Regions from separate parts of the Homo sapiens genome. Here all the other regions are linked to region 1. Evidence: promoter capture Hi-C in 16 types of primary human blood cells and fetal thymus (Javierre and others, 2016). All regions are on one chromosome and are shown on one strand. The core of a region is centred on a gene start or on the middle of the fragment in contact, and the rest is flanking DNA. Distances in the headings are between cores, read along the strand shown. Region 1 holds the start of COA3 (cytochrome c oxidase assembly factor 3). Region 2 overlaps RETREG3 (reticulophagy regulator family member 3). Region 3 has its middle 18 kb from the start of AARSD1.

What was found. Contacts are between HindIII fragments. The CHiCAGO score rates a contact against its expected background, and 5 or more counts as called.
Region 2: a fragment that was not itself captured here is called in contact with the fragment with the promoter of COA3 in region 1 in 4 of 17 cell types (endothelial precursors, M2 macrophages, megakaryocytes and 1 more); the score reaches 9.0 in endothelial precursors.
Region 3: a contact is called between a fragment that was not itself captured here and the fragment with the promoter of COA3 in region 1, in 4 of 17 cell types (M2 macrophages, M1 macrophages, M0 macrophages and 1 more). The highest score is 7.3, in M2 macrophages.

What each region holds. Positions count from the first base shown.
Region 1 is chr17:42,796,032-42,801,172 of GRCh38, forward strand. COA3 (cytochrome c oxidase assembly factor 3) reads right to left here and starts at 2,673. Exons shown (of 2, transcript NM_001040431.3): 1 at 2,437-2,673; 2 at 1,594-2,136. The coding sequence starts at 2,650. The coding sequence ends at 2,030. CNTD1 (cyclin N-terminal domain containing 1) reads left to right here and starts at 2,830. Exons shown (of 7, transcript NM_173478.3): 1 at 2,830-3,205. The coding sequence starts at 3,037. It overlaps WNK4 (WNK lysine deficient protein kinase 4), which reads left to right. Exons shown (of 19, transcript NM_032387.5): 16 at 1-2; 17 at 92-291; 18 at 450-547; 19 at 655-1,035. The coding sequence ends at 657. RefSeq lists enhancers at 2,356-2,425, 2,566-2,615, 2,636-2,685. The HindIII fragment of the contact is 5,104 bases long and covers 1,548-5,141 here.
Region 2 is chr17:42,596,863-42,602,003 of GRCh38, forward strand. All of the region lies in intron 1 of RETREG3 (reticulophagy regulator family member 3), which reads right to left. Among named protein-coding and RNA genes, the nearest start is that of RETREG3, 9.9 kb to the right of the region's middle. The HindIII fragment of the contact is 4,096 bases long and covers 1-3,826 here.
Region 3 is chr17:42,943,976-42,949,116 of GRCh38, forward strand. No RefSeq gene overlaps it. Among named protein-coding and RNA genes, the nearest start is that of AARSD1, 18 kb to the right of the region's middle. The HindIII fragment of the contact is 4,442 bases long and covers 1-4,204 here.

The DNA of each region.
Region 1 (5,141 bases), core at 1,423-3,922:
AAGTGAGTCTCGGGAGGATGGAGGAGTGAGAGGAGAACCTGGGAGAGCAAGGTGTGTGGCTAGCCCTTTCATGCCCTCCGTGCATCCTCAGGCACTTGTCAGAGGTGGAAACACTACAGACACTACAGAAAAAAGAAATTGAAGATTTGTACAGCCGGCTGGGGAAGCAGCCCCCACCGGGTATTGTGGCCCCAGCTGCTATGCTGTCCAGCCGCCAGCGCCGCCTCTCCAAGGGCAGCTTCCCCACCTCCCGCCGCAACAGCCTACAGCGCTCTGAGCCCCCAGGCCCTGGTGAGACTGCAGTCACCCAGCTTCCATCTTTTCCCTGAGACCCCTTTCTGTCGACTGTTTTTCTCCAGGCCCTGGGGGTCTGCCCCGGGGGAATAGACCCCCTCTCCCCACCTCCCCTTTCCTCACTTAGTGCTCTCCTTCCCCCATCCTGCTCCCAGGCATCATGCGAAGGAACTCTCTGAGTGGCAGCAGCACCGGCTCCCAGGAGCAGCGGGCAAGCAAGGGGGTGACATTCGCCGGGGATGTTGGCAGGATGGTGAGGGCGGGCCCAAGGGAGGGAGAGCCCAGGGAATGGTACCTGGCTGCAGCTTCGCCTTCCTCCCACCTTGGAGGTTTCTTCATCACTTTTTCTTTTCCCTCCAGTGAATTCAGAACAGAAGCCATGTATCTCCCCCACACCAGGGCCCACCATGGAGCTTGTGTTCTCAGAATCTGATGCTTTCTGATCAACAAAACTGAGCAAGGAAGATCCCAACACTGAAGGGGTAGAAGGCCAGGGGGGCATGGAGAGTGCAGCTCCATTATAGTGAAGAGCCAAACATATGTGAACTGTTTGCTGTGTGGAGGTGTTAGTTCTGCTGCCTACCATCTTCATCTCTAGCACCTCCCCTGCCAAGAGTCAACCACTAAGCAATCCCACCCAAGCCTGGATGCTTCTAGAGGGGCCCACTCCCAGCTGGGAGAGTGTAGGGGATATGCTCACACCACATTAGCAGCAACCAATAAAAATGCTGGAAACAAGAACGCCGTGAATCCATATGCCATGCCTTAGGAATTGGGGGAGCAAAGACTTGTGGGGTGAGGCAGGGGAGGATTTAAAAGGGACTTTCTTTTCACAATGGGAGGCAGGGGTGGAAGCTGCCCAGCCCTCTGGCTTCCTGCCATCAGTTAATGAGGAAACTGCAAGGTCAGTGATCCACTTGACTAAGTTAGGATCCCCTCCAGACCCCACCCTAGACCTGTATAGGCAGGTACCAGGGAAAGTTAAAAGAATGAAGACTGCTTGTCTTTCACCCTTCATCCACCTCTCTCTCCCTCCCTCTCTCTGGGGATGGGAAAAGCAGTAGAGTTACAGTATGTTCTTGTGGGTAGAGGACAGAAGAGTGACCTTCCTTCCCCTAAGACGTGGGTTCAGTCTCAAACTGCCCAGTGATCTCTCCCTTAAATCAGGTGGAAAGATCTCATGGAAAAAGTAATTCTAGTTAAACATTTACAGCTCCCTGGGGCAATGCCACCACTGCAGCTACTGCTTGTGAAGCTTTCCAGCATGAAGTGCCATATGCTGCCTCTCAGCCTCCATACTCACTTGACTCCAGGAGAATGACTCAGTTTATTATTCTCAATTTGACCCTATGTATCCCACTGTAGGCTCAAACACTGCACAGAGCTGCCACGTCTAACCTCGTAACAACTGCGTCCCTGGAAGGTGAAGGGGGTAAACCACAAAGTCAGAAACTTTGGGAAAAGCCACGGTCGCATGCACACCTCTCAAACAAGGAAACAAACTACAAGAAAGGGCTCAGTCATTGTACACAGCAAGTGTGCAGTGGGCAAAGTTCTGTTCTTTTGACATTGGCCAAATGCGTAAGTCCCTGGTTTCTTGGGCTCAATCACGGTCCAAGGTTAGTAAGAAGGCCAACAATGTTGTGAGCAGGATTCAATTTCTACAGGGTCATGGGGCATCATCCACCATGTGAAGGGGCTCCAGCAGGTTGGACATGATCAATACCCATCCAGATTAGGACCCTGACGCCCTTGCCAGAGCTCGGGCTCGGGCAGCTTTGGCCTCGTCTTCTAGCTCATCTAGGAAACGCTCCTGGGAAATCGAGTAGAAGGTGTAACCATCTGGGGAGGTAGGTTCAGGAAACCACACAGAATATGCACATTCCCCTTTCCTAGATTTGCTCTACCACTCTTGTTACTCTCCCAAATCAGTGATTCCGGCTTCCCGCCGCTGCTGTTTCTAAACCCTGAACCCCAATTCCGTTATTATTAATAAATCAAATTAAAAGAGTACCTTAGGAATAACAAAGGAAAGTACTACCCATTTTACCCCAAAATTAAACGGGTGGTTCAGCCCTCTTGCACACTCTGTTCCCCTGCCCCTATATGCGGTCCCCTTGAGTCTACAACACGGACGGATACAAATAGCCAACACCAGGGCCCCGATGCCTAGGCCGGTCACGATGTTCCGGGTTCGCCGCCGTGGTAGGACCTTCTGCCACTGGGCAAGCTCCGCCTGCCGCATGGAATGCAGTTGCTCGGGTGTCAGCTTCTCCCGAGTCGGGTCGATACGCTGAGCGAACGGGGCCTCTCCACGCTTAGAATCCAGAGGGTCACCAGCTCCCGAAGACGCCATGTTGCCACTCCTCCCTTCGCGGTGCCGCCGCGCGGGCCTCGCTGGGAACAGTAGCCCTTGGCCGCTGCAGTGGACTCTGGGAGTTGTAGTCCGCGTGCCCTTTGCGGGGCAGAGCCGCGGTTCCCGGGCACAGGGGATGGACGCGGGAGGTGAGAAGCGGACGTGCTTTCTGATTGGCTGAGGAGTCCGTGGCCGTTGGGGCGGGAAAAAGCTGTGGAGGGTTCGAGGCTGTGGTGGTAATTGGGTTTTCCTCAGACTTGAGGCGACGACACACTCATTGGAAGGGGACGAGGAATCCAGGGTGTGGCAGAAGACTGGAGAGGAGCTAAGGGGGTCGGTATGTGGATCCAGTGAACCCGTCCAGGTGCCCCAAGAGGCTCGTGAATATGGACGGACCCATGAGGCCACGATCGGCCTCCCTCGTTGACTTTCAGTTTGGAGTTGTCGCCACAGAGACGATTGAAGACGCCCTGCTTCACTTGGCCCAGCAGAATGAGCAAGCAGTGAGGGAGGCTTCGGGGCGGCTGGGCCGCTTCAGGGAGCCCCAGATCGTGGGTGCGGCTGCAGGGCCGGGGTGCTGGGTTCTTGGGAGACTGGGGCTTGTGTCTTTCAGGCACCGACCTTGAGATTCCGTTGATTTTATTCATTCAGAGAATGTTTGCTAACACCTCTCTGTGGGGTGCTGGGGATATAGTGATGGATAAGTCACAACAGTGCCCTCCCCTTGATTTCTTCGACATGTATGGAATACTTGAGTGGCACCGCTTGGCTAGAAAGATGAAATAGAGGGCCAGGCATGGTGGCTTACACCTGTAATCCCAGCACTTTGGGAGGCTGAGGTGGGAGGTTCACCTGAGGTCAGGAGTTCGAGACCAGCCTGACCAACATGGTGAAATCCTGTCTCTACTAAAAGTACAAAAATTAGCCAGGACTGGTGGCGCGCACCTCTAATCCCAGCTACTCGGGAGGTTGAGACAGGAGAACTGTTTGAACCCAGGAGGCGGAAGTTGCAGTGAGCCGAAATCGTGCCATTGCACTTCAGCCTAGACGACAAGAATGAAACTCCGTCTCAAAAAAAAAAAAAAAAAAAAAAAAAAAAAAAGGCTGGGCGCGGTGGCTCACGCCTGTAATCCCAGCATTTTGGGAGGCTGAGGCGGGCAGATCACGAGGTCAGGAGATCGAGACCATCCTGGCTAACATGGTGAAACCCCGTCTCTACTAAAAATACAAAAAAAAGCCGGGTGTGGTGGCGGGCGCCTGTAGTCCCAGCTACTCCGGAGGCTGAGGGAGGAGAATGGCATGAACCCGGGAGGCGGAGCTTGCAGTGAGCTGAGATGGCGCCACTACACTCCAGCCTGAGTGACGGGTGACAGAGCGAGACTCTGTCTAAAAAAAAAAAAAAAAAAAAAGAGAAAAGAAAGATGAAATAGAGATAGAGGTCTTGCCTTCAAACCATGTGCAATTTGGGGGAGATATTAGAACAAATATGCAATGACTAGGTACTATGGTTAGATAAGAGACGTCAGAGAGAAATAAAACAAGCGTTTATGGGGGTTGAGAGGAGCGATGGGGTAATAGGAAGAATTCAGGGGATGGCCCAGGCATCGGGACATTTCAGGCAGACCTTGAAGGAAGGAGGACATTGGGTTGGTGAAGGGGGAGGAAGGAGACAGTGTTTCTACCAAAAAGAGGTAGCATGAGTAAAGCTATGGAAATGGGGTGCTTAGGGTGCATGTGGGTACAGTGTAGTCCATGTTGGCCAGTGCATGTGGAAGAATAGTTGAAATTAATACTGGAAAGGTAGTTTGGAGACATTCCATGTGGAAGTTTGAATGCCAAGGGGAAGAGTTTATCCTTGGTTTGGTAGGAAACCAAGAAGACATTGAAGGTTTTTAAATAAGGGAGTGAAGGTTTTAAAATAAGGGATACGATGGTAACCCTGCCTTAGTAAACATTATTTTGGCAGTGATGTAAAGGAGGTAAAGGATGGATTAAACCAGAGGGAGATGGGATGTAGGCAGACAGGTAGAGTCAATGTCAGTAGGCTAGGTGATAGGGCAGAGGGAATAACAAGGGAGGGTGGATTAAAAACATTCTAGAGGCAAAGTCTAGGGTTCTGCTGTGGATAAATTTAGGAAGTGAAGGAGGAAAACGTGACTATGCTAAACGGTTGAGCCTGGAAGACTGGAAGTATAGTGGTCATTAAAAGAAACACACAGACACGGCCGGGCACGGTGGCTCACGCCTGTATTCCCAACACTTTGAGAGGCTGAGGCGGGTGGATCACGAGGTCAGGGGTTCGAGACCAGCCTGGCCAACATAGTGAAACCCTGTCTCTATTAAAAACACAAAAATTAGCTGGGCATGGTGGCAGGCACCTGTAGTCCCAGCTACTCGGGAGGCCGAGGCAGGGGAATGGCTTGAACCTGGGAGGCGGAGGTTGCAGTGAGCCAAGATTGTGCCACTGCGCTCCAGCCTAGGCCACAGAGCA
Region 2 (5,141 bases), core at 529-3,028, 200 kb before region 1:
GTTTGGAAGAATTTTTTTTTTTTTTTTGAGATAAGAGTCTGGCTTTGTCACCCAGGCTGAAGTGCAATGGCGCCATCTTGGCTCACTGCAACCTCTGCCTCCTGGGTTCAAGCAATTCTCCTGTCCTAGTCTCCCAAGTAACTGAGATTACAGGTGCCCTCACCATGCCCAGCTAATTTTTAAATTTTTTAAATAGAGACAAGGTTTCACCATGTTGGCTAGGCTGGTCTCAAACTCCTGATCTCAAGTGATCCGCCCGCTTCGACCTCCCAAAGTACTGGGATTAGAGGCATGAGCCGCTGTACCTGGCCAGAAGAATCTATTTTTTCTTTTTTTTTTTTTTTGAGACGGAGTCTTAGCTCTGTCGCCAGGCTAGAGTGCAGTGGCGTGATCTTGGCTCACTGCAACCTCTGCCTCCCAGGTTCAAGCAATTCTCCTGCCTCAGCCTCCTGAGTAGCTGGGATTACAGGCATGCACCGCTACGCCCAGCTAATTTTTGTATTTTTAGTAGAGACGGGGTTGCACCATGTTAGCCAGGATGATCTCGATCTCCTGACCTTGTGATCCACCCACCTCGGCATCCCAAAGTGCTGGGATTACAGGAATGAGCCACCGCGCCCAGCCAGAATCTATTTTGTGTGTGTGTGTGTGTGTGTGTGTGTATATATATATATATATATTTCGTATATATATTTTTGTGTATATATATATTTTGTGTGTATATATATATATATATATATATATATATATATATATATTTTTTTTTTTTTTTTTTTTTTTTTTTTGAGACAGAGTCTCACTCTGTCACCCAGGCTAGAGTGCAGTGGCACAGATCTCCACTCACTTCAACCTCCGCCTCCAGGGTTCAAGTAATACTCCTGCCTCAGCCTCCTGAGTAGCTGGGGTTAAGGTGTGCGCCACTGCGCCCAGCTAATTTTTGTATTTTTAGTAGAGACGGAGTTTCGTCTTGTTGGCCAGGCTGGTCTCGAATCCCTGATCTCAAGTGATCAGCTCGCCTCAGCCTCCCAAAATGTTGGGATTACAGGCATAAGCCACCGCGCCTGGCCAAGAAACGTTATTTTATACCACAAAGAAAACTCTTCTTCCTCTGAAGTTTTTTTTTTTTTTTTTTTTTTTGAGACGGAGTCTCGCTCTGTTGCCCAGGCTGGAGTACAGTGGTGCGATCTCGGCTCACTGCAAGCTCCATCTCTCGGGTTCATGCCATTCTCCTGCCTCAGCCTCCCGAGTAGCTGGGACTACAGGCGCCCGCCACCACGCCCGGCTAATTTTTTGTATTTTTAGTAGAGACGGGGTTTTACCATGTTAGCTAGGATTGTCTCGATCTCCTGACCTCATGATCCACCCGCCTCAGCCTCCCAAAGTGCTGGGATTACAGACGTGAGCCACCGCACCCGGCCTCTTCCTCTGAAGTTATTATTGTGGCTTGTTCCAAAAAAAGATAAATCTGGGACTAAAATTGATTTATGGACAAGGATTAATCTTGTTATGGAAGATGCTCACAATTTTAGCCTTCAAGACCCAGAAAATATACCCTTTATGAAACTATTGGCTTATCTTCATCTGCAGGATGAAATCCCATTACCCCGTCATAAAAGGGCCTTCATGATCTGGATCCTGCCTCTCTCCCCACACTGATTCCCTCCCTTTGTTTTTTATATTTCAGTTTTATCAAACTACTTGCAATTCCTTAAGTATCTTACTAGATTGGTGTTTTCCCTATCTGAATGTCTTCTCTCTCTTACCACACCTTTCGGCCCCATTTCCTTAACATTTATCTTGCAAATCACAGCTTAGATATCTTCCTGTTTGTTATTATTACCTGTCACGTTATATCGTGAACACAAACACACATGAATTTACTTGAGAGTAAAGTTTGTGTCTTATTTTTTTCTGTAACTGGGCTTCTTACCACAAGGCCTTGGCATGTAACAGGTACTCAAAGGTATGTTGAATTGAATTGAAGCATAGCTTATAAGAATGGAAGGTAAGGGCTGTAACAAGCAATTTAAATAGTCCAGGTCTTAGAAAACAGTCTTTTTTTTTTAATGTTTACCAGTTTATTATAAGGGATATGTTTTTATTGCCATCATCTCTGGAAAACCAACCTTCTTAGGAGAGCTTAATATCCTTTCCCTACCCTAGTTTCTATTTGTGTTAGTAATCGTGCTCTGGGAAGGGGAAATTGCCAACAGTCTGGCAAGCCTCCCTAGAGAGCCCTTTCAAGTACTCTGGAGAAAACAGCGATGCCATGTGCTGCTGCTGGGGAAGGGAAGCAGCAGCACTGGGGAGCAAGAAACCCTAGAGCTCTTCTCCTTGGCCTTGTTAAATGTGCTTGTTTGTTGGGATGATGCACTGGCTTTAGAGAGAAGATCAATGGCCTGAGGCAGCTCTAGAGGCTTATTTCTGTTAAACTGCTTTTATTCTTTAATCTTACATATAGTCACAGTATCCTTTAGGTGGTAGGCTGGAAAAATTGAAATAGGGTTGTTGGCTGGGCACAGTGGCTCATGCCTATAATCCCAGCACTTTGGGAGCCTTAGGTGGGTGGATAACCTGAGATCGGGAGTTTGAGACCAGCCTAGCTAACATGGAGAAACTCCATGTCTATTAAAAATACAAAATTAGCCGGGCGTGGTGGTGTATGCCTGTAATCTCAGCTACTCAGGAGGCTGAGGCAGGACAATCGCTTGAACCCAGGAGGCAGAGGTTGCAGTGAGCTGAGATTGTGCCATTGCATTCCAGCCTGGGTGACAGAGTAAGGCTCCGTCTCAAAAAAAAAAAAAAAAAATTATACAACTAACATGAATTCATGTTTATCGAAAAAAAAGTACAGGCATGGTGGCTCACGTCTGTAATCCCAGCACTTTGGGAAGCCAAGGCAGGTGGATCACCTGAGGTCAGGAGTTCGAGACAAGCCTGGCCAACATGGCGAAACCCCGTCTCTACTAAAAATACAAAAAATTAGCTGGGCATAGTGGCGGGCACCTGTAATCCCAGCTACTCAACAGGCTGAGGTGGGATGACAGCTTGAGTCCGGGAAACTGAGGTTGCAGCGAGCCGTTATCGTGCCACTGTACCCCAGCCTGGGTGACAGAGCGAGACCCTATCTCAAAAAACAAAAAAGCAAAACAGAAAAAACCACCTAAACACTAACAAATTGGTTTGTGGGGAAAAAAAGAGTTTAAAAAAAAAACAACAAATAAAACCACACACAACAGGCCACATGTGGTACCTAAAGCCTGTAATCCCAATACTTTGGGAGGCCGAGGCAGGAGGATCACTTGAGTCAAAGAGTTTGAGACCAGCTTAGGCAACACAGCAAGACCTCATCTCTACTGAAAAGAAAAACATTAGCTAGGTGTGGTGGTGCACGCTTGTACTCCCATTTACTTGGGAAGCTGAGGTGGGAGGATTGCTAGAGCCAGAAGGTTGAGGTTGCAGTGAGCTCTGATTGTGCCACTGCACTCCAGCTTGGGAGACAGAGCAAGACCCTGTCTCGAAAAGAAAAAAAAAAGTATCATTTATGACATTTATAAGAAAATTGGAAATGTGAACACTGACTAGAATCATTAATTTTTTGCATGTGATAATGATGGCAGATGTTTCTTAAAGTCTCTTTTTCAGAAAAATATACTGAAATACCTAGATTAAATGATATGACACATCAATAATTTGTGTCAAACAATAAGGAAGACGTAGAAAAGAACTGGGGTATGGAAGACACAAAATTGGCCAGGAATTGAAAAAAATAATATTATGTACATGGTGGCACACAATATTATTCTGCCTACTTACACATGTTTTAAGCTTTCCATAATAAAATATTTTTAAAATGATCCATTATCCACATATGTACTCTAAAAAGTGTGAAGACAGGCTATTCTCTTCATTAAAAAATTCACATATAAAAACACTATGGTTTTAAAACTTTTTCACATAATACATAGACAATTAGCCTGATGTGGTGATGAACTCCTGTGGTCTCATCAGCCATGAGGTGGAATGATCACTTGAGCTCAGGAGTTCCAGGGTACAGTGAGCCATGATCACACCACTGCAATCTAGCCTGGGTGACAGAGTGAAACCTTCTCTCAAAAAAAACAATGAATGGGCCAGGCGCAGTGGCTCAAACCTGTAATTCCAGCACTTTGGGAGGCTGAAGCAGGTAGATCACTTGACATCAGGAGTTCAAGACCAGCCTGGCCAACATGGTGAAACCCCATCTCTACCTAAAAATACAAAAATTAGCTAGGCATGGTGGCGGGTGCCCGTAATCCCAGCTACTCAGGAGGCTGAGGCAGGAGAACTGCTTGAATCCGGGAGGCGGAGGTTGCAGTGAGCTGAGATTGTGCCACTGCACTCCAGCCTGGGCAACACAGGAAGACTCCATCTCAAATAAAATAAAATAAACTAAGACGGTGGCTCAAGCCTGTAATCCCAACACTTTGGGAGGCTGAGGCAGGCAGATCACGAGATCAGGAGATCGAGACCATCCTGGCTAACACGGTGAAACCCTGGCTCTACTAAAAAATACAAAAAATTAGCCGGGAGTGGTGGTGGGCGCCTGGAGTCCCAGCTACTCGGGAGGCTGAGGCAGGAGAATGGCGTGAACCTGAGAGGCGGAGCTTGCAGTGAGCCGAGATCGCGCCACTGCACTCCAGCCTGGGCAACAGACAGAGCGAGACTCTCTCAAAAAAAAAAAAGAAAAGAAAAATAAACGAAAAATAAACTAAGAAGGTTCCAACTTTTTTTTTTTTTTTTTTTTTGAGACGGAGTCTTGCTCTTGTTGCCCAGGCTGGAGTGCAGTGGCGCGATCTCGGGTCACCACAACCTCTGCCTCCCAGGTTCAACGGATTCTCCTGCCTCAGCCTCCCAAGGTAGCTGGGATTACAGGCATGCGCCACCATGCCCGGCTGATTTGGCATTTTTAGTAGAGATGGGGTTTCTCCATTGTTGGTCAGGCTGGTCTTGAATTCCCGACCTTAGGTGACCTGCCTGCCTCGGCCTCCCAAAGTGCTGAGAATTATAGGCATGAGCCACTGCGCCCAGCCAAAAGTTTCCAATTTTTTGATGTAATAAAAGCTGAACTATACATCACTGAGCATGTTACTGGGTCAAAG
Region 3 (5,141 bases), core at 734-3,233, 150 kb after region 1:
TGGCGCACACCTGTAGTCCCAGATACTTGGGAGGCTGAGCCAGGAGAATCTCTTGTACCCGAGAGGCAGAGGTTGCAGTGAGCCAAGATTGTGCCGCTTCTCTCCAGCCTGGGTGAAAGAATGAGACTCCATCTCAAAAAAAAAAAAAAAAATTGTGTTGTCTATTAAACTATGTTTGCTTTATTTCAGATGGCCTGGATGCTGGAAATTATGAGAAAACTAAATCCTCCCCCAGCCTCCTTTGACAACACCACTACCCTCTCCTACCCTCTTCCTCCCATTATTCTCTATTCGTTTACCTGCTCTCTTCCTCTCAGATTCAACAGAATTTATACTTTTACATGTATTGGATTGTTTCTTTCTTATCTTCCTTCTCCACAGCTGTAAATGCCATAACAGGGACCACGGCCAGATTACTCACCAGTGTGGCCCCAGTGCTGGGTACAATGCTTGGCACACACTACACTCTCAATAAACATCTGTCGTATAAACAAATGAATTCTGTGATTATGTATCATATGCACAAGTCAACAACAACACAAGTTATGTATTATGAAAGGGAGAACTTGCATTTTCACAGAAGAAAATGTTGATTCCTCCCTTCTTTTCTGAAACACTTGGCCTCTTAAATAATTAACTAATTTTAATTGATACATATAAAATTGTAGGCCAGGCACAATGGCTCACGCCTGTAATCCCAGCACTTTGGGAGGCTGAGGCGGGTGGATCACCTGAAGTCAGGAGTTCGAGACCAGCCTGGTGAACATGGTGAAACCCTGTCTTTACTAAAAATACAAAAATTAGCTGGGCATGGTGGTGGGTGACTGTGATCCCAGCTACTCGGGAGGCTGAGGCAGGAGAATCGCTTGAACCCAGGACAAGGAGGTTGCCGTGAGCTGAGATCATACCACTGCACTCCAGCCTGGGCGACAAGAGCGAAACTCCGTCTCAAAAAAAAAAAACTACTCTCTTTGCAATTTTCAAGAATACAATACATTAGTTTTCAGTGGTTTTGTTTTTTTGAGATTGAGTCTTGCTCTTTTGCCTAGGCTAGAGGGCAGTGGCACAATCTCGGCGCAATCTCGGCTCAGCAACCTCTGACTCCGGAGTTCAAGTGATTCTCCTGCCTCAGCCTCCTGAGTAGCTGGGACTACAGGTGTGTGCCACCATGCTCAGCTAATTTTTGTATTTTTAGTAGAGATGGAGTTTCACCATGTTGGCCAGGCTGGTCGCGAACTCCTGACCTCAAGTGATCTATCTGCCTCAGCCTCCCAAAGTGCTGGGATTACAGGCATGAGCCACCACGCCTGGCCTAATACATTGTTATTAAACACCTATAGTCATTGTGTAGTACTACAGTTATCTTAAATTTATTTCTCCTATCTTGGCCAACCAAGGTGGCTCAGGCCTGTAATCCCAGAACTTCGGGAGGCCAAGGCAGGAAGATCACTTGAGCTCAAGAGTTCAAGACAAGCCTAGGCAACATGGCAAGACCCTGTCTCCACAAAAGTAGAAAAAGTAGCCAGGTGCGGTGGTGTGTGCTTGTAGTCCCAGCTACTCAGGAGGCTGAAGTGGGAGGATCGCTTGAGCCCAGGAAAGTCGAGGCTGCAATGAGACAAGATTTCCATTGCACTCCAGCCCAGGAAACAGAGTAAGACCTTGTCTAAAAAAAAAAAAAAAGCAAACAAGCCCACAAGCAGACAAAAAAAAAAAAAAAAAATCAAAAAACTTATTCCTCCTATCTAACTAAAAGTGTGTATCCTTTGACCAACAACTCCTCAACCCCTCTCCCTCCTCCAAACTCTTGGCTTTGAGGTTGGTGTTTTAAAATGAACAGGGATATTTACTAACAGGCCTCTGCCACAGGTCACTTCTGCAGGGAGTTTATGGCTCAGCAAAAGAGAAAGCTGTCCCTGTGAGAGCCTCTTCTGCTCCAGACACAACTCCAGGTCAGTTAACTAAGTCCTACTTATTCCTTAGTTTGAAGCCTGGCACTCTGCCTGTAGTATTTTGCACAGAAGATACAGACCTTTCTAAAGAAAGAAGGAAATTCCTCCATCACTCGTTCCCAAACATCCCTACTTGCCCTCTGTTGAGAACACTAGTCATAGTTTGGATCAAATTCAGGAAAGGAATGGGAGACAGAGACGCTTTCTGAAAAAGATTTTTTTCATTAGGGCAAACACTGTCTGTTTTCCTTTTGGTACCAGGTTTTAAATAAACCCTAGAGTTTATTTAAGTTCTCATTCAGGGACAGATCTGGCATTCTAGCACAGCTTGGCCGACTCACTGGTTTCCACTCAGGACTCCAAGGCAGGGTGGAGCACAGGACACTGGCACAATGCCTTCCTGAATTCAGTCTGTGTGTGTTTGTTGTTGTTGTTGTTGTTGTTGTTGTTTTTGAGACGGAGCTTTGCTCTTGTTGCCTAGGCTGGATGGAGTGCAACGGCGCGATCTTGGCTCACTGCAACCTCCGCCTCCCGGGTTCAAGCAATTCTCCTACCTCAGCCTCCAGAGTAGCTGGGATTGCAGGCATGCGCCACCACACTTGGCTAATTTTGTATTTTTAGTAGAGGCGGGGTTTTTCCCATGTTGGTCAGGCTGATCTCAAACTCCCGACCTCAGGTGATCCACCTGCCTCAGCCTCCCAAAGTGTTGGGATTACAGGCATGAGCCACAGCGCCGGCCCTGAATTCAGTCTGTCTACTGCTCTGGGTCTCTTCCACCTGATACCTTTCATCTTTCATACTAACATCTGTTCTAGTACCTACATGCATCACCTTAGTGGAAGCTACAGCAGCTGTCTTCAGCAATTTATGGGTACGCACATAAAAAAATTTCCTTAGAAGCCAAGGAGTCCCCCTTACTATTTCTGTGCCGTAAAGTGGGTTATAGTAACATTCCAGAATATATAACCTGTGTGTGTACCTAAAACTTGATTACTCCAATAAATGAACTCATTTTGTTTCCTGGTGAACCTCATAAAAGACAATCCACCCCTTCCCCTGAACACACTCTGTTCTTCTCCCCCTCTCCCTGGGGCATTGGATTAGGGCCTCAGTGACAGGCAAGAATGACATCACCAGTTCAAAAACTGCTGCTTTATTTTCTCTTTCTTTATACAACCAATTACCATTTTCACATAATTTGCTCAAGTGTTTATGGCTTTTCTTAATTATTTCATAAGGTTCCTTCCTTCTTAGGACACCCAGTTCATGTGTCCATTTTCAGGTCAAGAAACTGAAGCTCAGGGAGTCTCAGCAGGGGGACCAGACATCCAGGCTACCTTAACACCGTCTGGGTTTCTGACTGTTGTTCTGGCATGAGGTTTGCCTAACTCTGGATATTAAAATTACATGGTTGCTCTAGGTCTAAGTGACAAGAACCCACCTGAGTGGTAGTGAGCAAGAGTGGCCTCCCAGGTCACTGTTCTTGTTGTTGCACCTGTGTTCTGAATCTTTGTGTACCCCTAAAAATTCATATGTTGAAATCCTAACCCCCTAAGTGGTATCAGGAGGTGGGCCCTTTAGCAGGTGATTAGGTCACGGGGGCAGAGCCTTCGTGAATGAAATTAGTGCATTATAAAAGAGGCCCGAGAGGGCTGGGTGCGGAGGCTCATGCCTGTAATCCCAGCACTTTGGGAGGCTGAGGCAGGCGGATCACCTGAGGTCAGGAGTTCGAGACCAGCCTGGCCAACATGGTGAAACCCCATCTCTACTAAAAATACAAAATATTAGCTGGGTGGGATGGCAGGCGCCTGTAATCCCAGCTACTCGGGAGGCTGAGGCAGGAGAATCACTTGAACCTAGGGGGTGGAGGTTGCAGTGAGCTGAGATTGCACCATTGCACTTCAGCCTGAGCAACAAGAGTGAAACTCCATCTGTCTCAAAAAAAAAAAAAAAAAAAAAAGGCCCAAGAAAGACCCCTTACCCTTTGCACCAAGGGTGCAAAAAGATGGCTATTCCTGAACCAGTATTTGAACCTTCACACCAGACACTGAATTTGCCAGCTTCCCAGCCTCCACTGTGAGAAATACATTTTTGTTGTTTATAAGCTACCTAGTTTTTGTTATTATAGCAGTCAGATCAGACTAAGGCACACCCTAAAGAAACAAACACAGAGAGGGACAGAGATCTCACACAGAGACAAATTCACATGGGTCTCTGTTCAAGATCCTGCCTGAGTCCTTCTACAAAAGTAAGGAAGCTTCTGTGAAGCAAACATTTCCCTTTCTCCCACTAATGGACCCATTTTGTATAGCATGAGTGTTACACTATGGTTTTATCTAAAACATGGCACTCTGAGAAAAGCAAGATGCAGAAGAGTATACAATGTGCTACCATTTATGTTTAAAAAGAGGGAAGATTTATGTACATCTATTTTTTAAAATACTACCAGAGGGATATATAAGAAATTGGTAACAGGCTGGGCATGGTGGCTCACGCCTGTAATCCCAACACTGGGAGGCCAAAGTGGACAAATTGCTAGAGCCCAGGAGTTCAAGACTAGTGTGGGCAACACGGCAAAGCACTGTCTCTAGAAAAAATACAAAAAATTAGCCAGGTGTGGTGGTGCACACCTCTAGTCCCAGCTACTCAGAGGGCTGAGGTGGGAGGATCACCTGTTCCCAGGAGGTTGAGACTGCAGTAAGCCATGATTGTGCCACTGCATTCCAGCCTGGGCAACAGAGTGAGACTATATCTGGAAAAAAAAAAAAAAAAAAGGCCAGGCATGGTGGCTCATACTTGTAATCCCAGCACTTTGGGAGGCCGAGGCCGGCGGATTACCTGAGGTCAGGAGCTCGAGACCAGCCTGGCCAACATGGTGAAACCCCATCTCTACTAAAAATACAAAATTAGCCGGGCATGGTGGCACATGCCTGTAATCCCAGCTACTCGGTAGGCTGAGGCAGGAGAATTGCTTGAACTCGGGAGGCGGAGGTTGCAGTGAGCGGAGACTGCGCCATTGCACTCCAGCCTGGGCAACAAGAGCGAAACTCCATCTAAAACAAAAAAATTAAGTGATTGATTCTGGAGAAAGAAATTGGGTAACTCAGTGGCAGGGTTGAAGGAAATTTTTGGTAGCACACACCTGTAATCCCAGCTACTTGGGTGGCTGAGGCACAAGAATTGCTTGAACCC